2 separate regions of the Homo sapiens genome follow, and region 1 is linked to region 2. Evidence: promoter capture Hi-C in human tissues and cell types (Jung and others, 2019). All regions are on one chromosome and are shown on one strand. The core of a region is centred on a gene start or on the middle of the fragment in contact, and the rest is flanking DNA. Distances in the headings are between cores, read along the strand shown. Region 1 overlaps SORBS2 (sorbin and SH3 domain containing 2). Region 2 holds the start of HELT (helt bHLH transcription factor).

What was found. Contacts are between HindIII fragments. The study calls those that stand out against the background at their distance.
Region 1: a fragment that was not itself captured here is called in contact with the fragment with the promoter of HELT in region 2 in 1 of the 25 tissues and cell types used here (lymphoblastoid cells).

What each region holds. Positions count from the first base shown.
Region 1 is chr4:185,594,242-185,597,606 of GRCh38, forward strand. All of the region lies in intron 24 of SORBS2 (sorbin and SH3 domain containing 2), which reads right to left. Among named protein-coding and RNA genes, the nearest start is that of SORBS2-AS1, 8.0 kb to the left of the region's middle. The HindIII fragment of the contact is 3,647 bases long and covers 1-3,365 here.
Region 2 is chr4:185,016,383-185,019,919 of GRCh38, forward strand. HELT (helt bHLH transcription factor) reads left to right here and starts at 2,108. Exons shown (of 4, transcript NM_001300781.2): 1 at 2,108-2,573; 2 at 3,005-3,109; 3 at 3,365-3,461. The coding sequence starts at 2,547. RefSeq lists enhancers at 1,358-1,938, 1,939-2,517, 2,518-3,097. The HindIII fragment of the contact is 22,587 bases long and covers 1-3,537 here.

The sequences.
Region 1 (3,365 bases), core at 463-2,962, 580 kb after region 2:
AGAACATAGACGGCAAACCACTAGAATAGGAAATATAGACACCTTCATACAACCTTATTCTCCAGCGTTTTCTCAAACAAGCAGAAAATAAACCACATTTAGTTTAACAGCAAAGTATCCACACTCATTCTTTCAATCTTTCCTTCACAGACAACATTTTCACATACAGCACAGAGGAAAATATCAATAGGCAGACATCCCATGCTACATTTGAATTAACATTTTCTGTTCTCAATGTGGAGAGAAAACATGCATTTTTAAAAAGAGAAAACAGAACTTTGGAATGCAACGAACAATATCCGGGTAACATGTAACATTTTACCTTAGAAGAGAAACATTGGTAGAAATTTCCAGTGCACTGAACTCTCAAAAGAGTTTCTTTTCTTTTTAAACTAAGCATCAAGACCAGTATCTGTAATAGATACTTATAATATTGGAAATGACAAGCCTTAGCATCCCATATACCCACATTAATATTTTCAGTGAATGAAAGTTAACATGTTTGTTGAATATATAAACTCAGTGTAATTTATATTGACTACCTAAACTTTACCTTTTAGGGGAGAAATGCAAACAAATCATTCATAATCCATTTCAAAAGCATTTGCTTCTAAATGATAGCTACAGGGTAAAATCAGAATTTGCATGGCAATTATATAAGTGACTGTTTGATGACTACTGAAATAGCTATTAGATCCATGTCCTTAGACTTTGGGACCAGTTCTTAGATTTCCATAGTTATGAGTGGATTACTGATAGGCTGAAATCTCTTGCTGCCAATTGTCCATAGAAACCCCACTGATCCAAGCTTGGATGGATAATTCTGAGGTTCCTTTCAGTCTACGAGTCAATGATTCACCCACTTCCTAAATTCTTTATCCACCCCCTTTCTATCCTACTTGTCTATCTAGCATAAGACTAGGTACTCACAGTACTAAAACTGTAAGCTCTGACTCGGTTAACTGGAAACCTTTATTAACAGTGTTCTTAGAAATTTCACTCAACAGTCTGTGGATAGAATATTTAAAACTAGAGTGCGTAAGAATTACTGCACACAATTATGACTTAAGAGTGAAATAGTTTACTCCTGTAAATCAATATGACTACTAATGATGTATCTATTATTAAAATTGGAAGATATTCATATTTTAAGAAAAATTATGACTAACCAGTTTTCCAACCATCTTAAAGGTCATTTAATTCAAGATATTATTAAATCAATTTAAATATATAAGATGGTAATTGTAAGTCATTGATAAGCCTGTATCATATTACCTATTTCAAGTTCTCTTCCAGTCCAATAAAACTTTATATATGTATAAAACTTTCATGCAGAAGTAAGATTTGTATACATCAATTGCCATTAATATTATTTTGTAATAACTTTCCAGTCTTTTTTTCTCAGTCTTCTTTCTTATTTCAAATGTCTGCAGAATAATGTTCTCCCACGTGTGTCTACATATCATAGTTTTCTTAACCATTCCTCTCTTTTTTTTTTAGTTTTGAAGTTAGAATTGGTCTAGTCTTTTTTTTTTTGCTATCATAAACAGCAATGCTATACACATTTTTTATGCAAAGAGCTATTTTCTTCTTTTGAACTATTCTTTAGAATATATTCCCAGGAGTAAAACTTCTGGCCAAAGAGTATGCATTAAAGCCATATGATTTTGAGAATGTACATGTTAGTCACTGAAAAATACTGTACTCAAAAGTAACTTGAAAATGTCTAATATGCCAGACTGCATATCATATACCAAGATAGCTACTACTCTTTCCCCAAAACAATCATAGCACCATTTGCAGTGCATAATAAAGTTATGAATAAGAAAATATTATTTATTCTTGTCTTAAGAGAAAATGTTGTGTAAAATATATTTCATTATGCTCTAAAATTGGCATCCCTGTTTTCACACATTTAAACCATTTTAATATTTTAAAATTGAGTAAAAGTTTCAACTTCTACATCATGGCATCCAATGCTTTGTAAAACTGGTTAGTTTCATTTCATTGCTCTTTTGTTAAAATGTGAATACCACTTTAAAAATCAAATTGTTCATTAATGTAAAACAATCAACTTTTAAAGTCCGTATATCCCTTTTTAGTTATCATCATTATAATTCTACTAGTTTAATTCCTTTAACTCAACCCACCTCATCAATCATTTAACTGAACTGTCCCATTGACCATTATGAAAATTTGGTGATTGCTGCAAACCTGCAGCTTCCTGGATCCCACGTCCATGGCTGGAGAACGTATGTTCCTGTGTGGGGCAGCCAGCACCGTCCTTGCTTTTTTTTTTTTTTTTTTTTTTTGAGATGGAGTCTCACTCTGCCACCAGGCTAGAGGTCAGTGGTGTGATCTTGGCTCACTGCAACCTCTGCCTCCCGGGTTCAAGCGATTCTCCTGCCTCAGCCTCCCGAGTAGCTGGGACTACAGGCACGCACCACCGTGCCCAGCTAATTTTTGTATTTTTAGTAGAGACAGGGTTTCACCATGTTAGCCAGGATGGTCTCGATCTCCTGACCTTGTGATCTTCCCGCCTTGGCCTCCTAAAGTGCTGGGATTACAGGCGTGAGTCACTGCGCCCGGCCCCCGTCCTTGCTTTTACCTGTTTCCCAATTTCTCTTTTCCCTTCCTTCATATCTTTCAAACCCTGCCCCTCTTTTTACACACAAATCATCAGTTTTCTATACTGTTCACATCCTGAGGCCAGAATCAATCAAGACTTTTCGTAGCAGAGAAGTTGTGTGTGTCTTATAATGGCGAGTTTTAGAACTTTTCAAAGCTTACCTTTAACAAGAATCACCTCCATGTTAATGTGGATAACTAGGAGACAGTTTTGAGGAAAGCTGACTAATTACAGTACTTGAAATAGTTTATTTTAAAGGCATTTGACTAGTAGGGAATGAGTAGCAAGAACAGTTATCTAAGACGGCTCATCTGCGTCTTTCTGTTTTGGGCGTTAAGCACCATATAACCTTGGGGATGCCTCAGCTTCCCTATCTCTGAAATCAATGAGTTGGACAAGATGAGGGTTAATCGGGTCCCCTCAGGGATTCCATGAAGGATACACATTTCCACAGATGTATTTCCTCTGCTGTGTAAAGGTGTCCGTCATCAGTTTTACACAGAGAGCTGGGACACTGACATTGATTGGTTAATTCTCATGTGTCTCGGTCACGTAAAAAAAAATAATGGTTACAATTCAACTCCATTTTGCAGAATGGTAAACCAAAACCCAAAGATACTGGATAATTTCTTAATACGACAAATAGGTAAAAAACAAACAGAAAAAGAAACAAAATGGTAATTTCGATGTGCACGCTATTGCATGAAAGATTACTATGATGGACTACTTGGCCTAC
Region 2 (3,537 bases), core at 858-3,357:
GGATCAACGCCCGGGCCGCTGGCTTAAAAATGGGAGTGGGAGTGCGAAGTGTGCGCGCTCCTTTTTACCCATTCACGTTAGTTAATTTGGATGATAAGGGTTCGCGTTTAATCTCTTTGTGTGCGAGTGAATATCCTGAAATCGACAACCCCTGAGAGGGCACTCGCGGCTGGCAGAGCAACCTGGGAGGGTGCGGATCGTGTCCAATCTGGCGTGAAGCAGAAAGGAAACATCGTGAGGAGACTAGAGGCAGGACCGAGAGGGACACCCTAGGGGTGCGAGGTGCAGACCGAGCCCTCACATCTCCCAGGCCGCAGCAGGTGGGCCGATGGCTTCCCCGAGGCCTGGCACCCCAGGCCTGGCTCTGCGCCCTGAGGCTCCCAGGTCCCACCAGCTAGAAGAGCGCCGCCTACCCACCCCTGCCAAGGTCTAACGACCCCAAGGGGGGCGCTGGGCCCTGCCATCTCCCTGCAGAACAGAGAGAATTTAGGCAGGGTTAGGGGCAGGCAGAAAAGAAGAAAAATCTGAGAAGCGGTCTCAGCTGTTCCCAGATGGAAAAGATTAGAGAGGTGAGAGTTCGGTGGCTCTAGAAAGGGCCATAAAACAAAAATCATTTTTATCGTTTCAATCTGCAAGAAAGCTCACCCCCCACCCACACCCCACAAGCTCAGAGCCCCCAGAGTATAGGATCCGAGGCAGCAAGTGTGAGCGAGGCCCGTCCTGGGGGAGGTGGCCTCTGGCCGCGGGGCCAGGTTGCCCTCAGAGGCGCAGGCGGCCAAGAGAGTTCCCAGCCGCCGCCGCCCCCCTCCTTCCCCTTGGGCCCGTCCAGCAAATTTCCTCCCTCGTTTCTGTTCGTGCCTTCCCTCCCTCCTCCTCCCCCCGATATTTTCGCTTTCTAAAACCATAAAAAAGAGATCAACTTCCCAAACTTCACAGGGCCCTTTTCAGTGACAAATATTGATGCCCAAAGTGTCTGCGCTCTCCCGCCCCCAAACGTTAAGAAAAGACGCCAGCGAAAGGGAGACATAAAAAGTTAACAATGCTGTGAAAATATGTTTGCAGAAAATAGACAATCGTTGGATTAAACGTATTCAAGTATGAAATAATGCCTTTTTGTGTCAAAACTTGGGCGATGGGCGGGTACAAAAGTTCCCTGTGGCAGCTACTTGCTCCCTTTGTGAGCCGTGCGCTTTGGCGTCTCCACTTGGGCGCATTACTCAGAGCCCTCTAAGCGCGATTGTTTCTCCCTTTCTAATGACATTTACCGGATCAAAACATGCTGTTAATTCGATCAGAAGGCTTCACCCTCCCTGACAAAGCCACAATAATTTCTCCTGAAGTTTGTTAAATTGACCAAAATTAGGCAAATGAATAGGGGTCTGTAGGCGCCCCCTCTCGCAGGTGACGTTGCATAATGCTTGCCTGGGCCAGCTGCATTCCCCCTTTTCTTCTCGGCCCACTCTTCTCCGTGTTGCCCCCCAATCCTCCCACCCGCCCCTTCACACACAAACACACACACACGCCCGCCAGTCTCTCCTCCCCCACCCTCTGGCATTATTAAAATTTAGCCCAATGAAACTATTCATACTTTTCAATGGACATTTTCGTATAGGATAATAGGCTACAAATTGAGCCTCTTCCCCCCGCGAAGAGGGAGCAGGAGGGGTGGGGAGAAAAGAAAGCCAGCGACGTGGTCAGGGAGTAGGGGGGAGCGTCGCGTGCCAAACAGCGGCGGGAGGGGCGAGGCGAGGCGAGGCGGGAGCCTCGTGTGCCAGCCGCAGCCCCACACCTGCCGGGATGTCCGGACAAATAAAGCGGTGTAAACAAAAAGGGGGGAGAAGGACGTGTCACCAAGTCGTGTGAGAAAAGCCTGGGAACAAACGGGGCGCCTCCGTCTCCAAGAGCTCTCCCTTGAACCCGGCGGAACAGCCTATTAAAGGCTTACTTAATTACTTTAATGACTCTGGACAGGCTTTAAAACGCACTCGGCGCTGGGACGGCGGGCTTGCTGGGATTTGTAAACAGGCGATCATGTGAGACTCAGCGGTGGGACTAAAAGAGGCGACACTGTTTTGTGAGGGTCCTCGCCCCCCGGTGCCCGCGGCCGCTGCGCCCCTGCGCTCCGCGCCCGCGACTGCTGCAGGCGCTTGCTCGCCCGCCGGCCCCAGTTTACCGCCTCCTTTTCCCGCCCGAGCTGTTGCCATGCAAATGTTATTCCTGGGCCGATCACGTGTCCTTTGAAGGGCCACGTGGATTAACAAAGCTGATCTGCCCCCAGCTCGCCCCCCTCGGCTGCTAATTTTTTTTTTTTCTTAACTTCTTTAAAACTGATCTTGAATGCATACATCCTCCAAACGCAGCTCCCCTAATCCTATGGAATAATTCAACTCGTGAATGCATCTGGAGCCCTAGATGACCGCTTTATAAGGCAGCCCTCGGAGTTGGGAGGCTGCAGTCTACCTGGGACACTCGAGGAGGCACACGAGGCGGAAAAGTGGACGGGTGCCCCGCGCCACCGCCTCTCCCGAGGGCGCGTACTGACCAGGATGTCAGACAAGCTCAAGGAACGCAAAGTGAGTCGGCTGAGCCCAAATGGCACTTGCGCCCTGGTGGTGGAGGCATCTGACTCACCGACCCGCCACTTGGGTGGACCGATGGCAGGGAAGTGCCCGCACGGGACTTTGAGTGTGGAGGAATCTCGAGTGGTTTGGGAAGGGGGTGGGGTAGAGAGAGGAGGGTGCTCAACCAGGTAGAAGTCCTGCCTGGAGGCTGGCGGCCACCTCCCCAAAGGCCTGGGTAGGGTGGCTGGAAGGGGAGCGCGCCAGCGCGGGCGTCAGAAGGCAGAGCTCACCTGGCCCGAGCGTGGCGGGCCAGGAGTCCCTTCCTAGAGCGAATCTGAGCAGTGTGCGCGGCTGGAGAGGCGGCTTGCACCCAGCTGCTAGAGCCGCGCCTTTGACGACTTCCCGGGCAAAGCCATCCTAAACATACAACCCTCTCTTCGCAGAGAACCCCCGTTTCTCATAAAGTGATAGAAAAGCGGAGGAGGGACAGGATCAACCGCTGCTTGAACGAGCTGGGCAAGACAGTGCCCATGGCCTTGGCGAAGCAGGTAACGTTGGCGACCCGGAGCCGGGTGCCAGGCGTTGGGAGGCCTCTGCGGCCACTCTGCGGAGACGCCCGAGCCCGCGGACACAGAGGACCTCACTTGCGGGCCCCTCCCAGGCGGGGGGCCTGAGCGCAGGGCGAACCTCAGGAGGCTCTGGCGCAGATCCGCAGCCGCGTCCGCTCGCTGGTCCTCTCCAGCGCCACAGTGCCCGACCAGCAGGCGCTGGGCCGCTGCGAGGGGCCCTTCCTCCTTTTGCAGAGTTCCGGGAAGCTGGAGAAGGCGGAGATCCTCGAGATGACCGTTCAGTACCTGAGAGCACTGCACTCCGCTGATTTTCCCCGGGGAAGGGAAAAAGGTGGGCACAGGTTAGGGAATGGGACGCCTGGGCCAGGCGCCTGCGCCACCCAGAGACCCTGGGGCTGGGAGGGGAG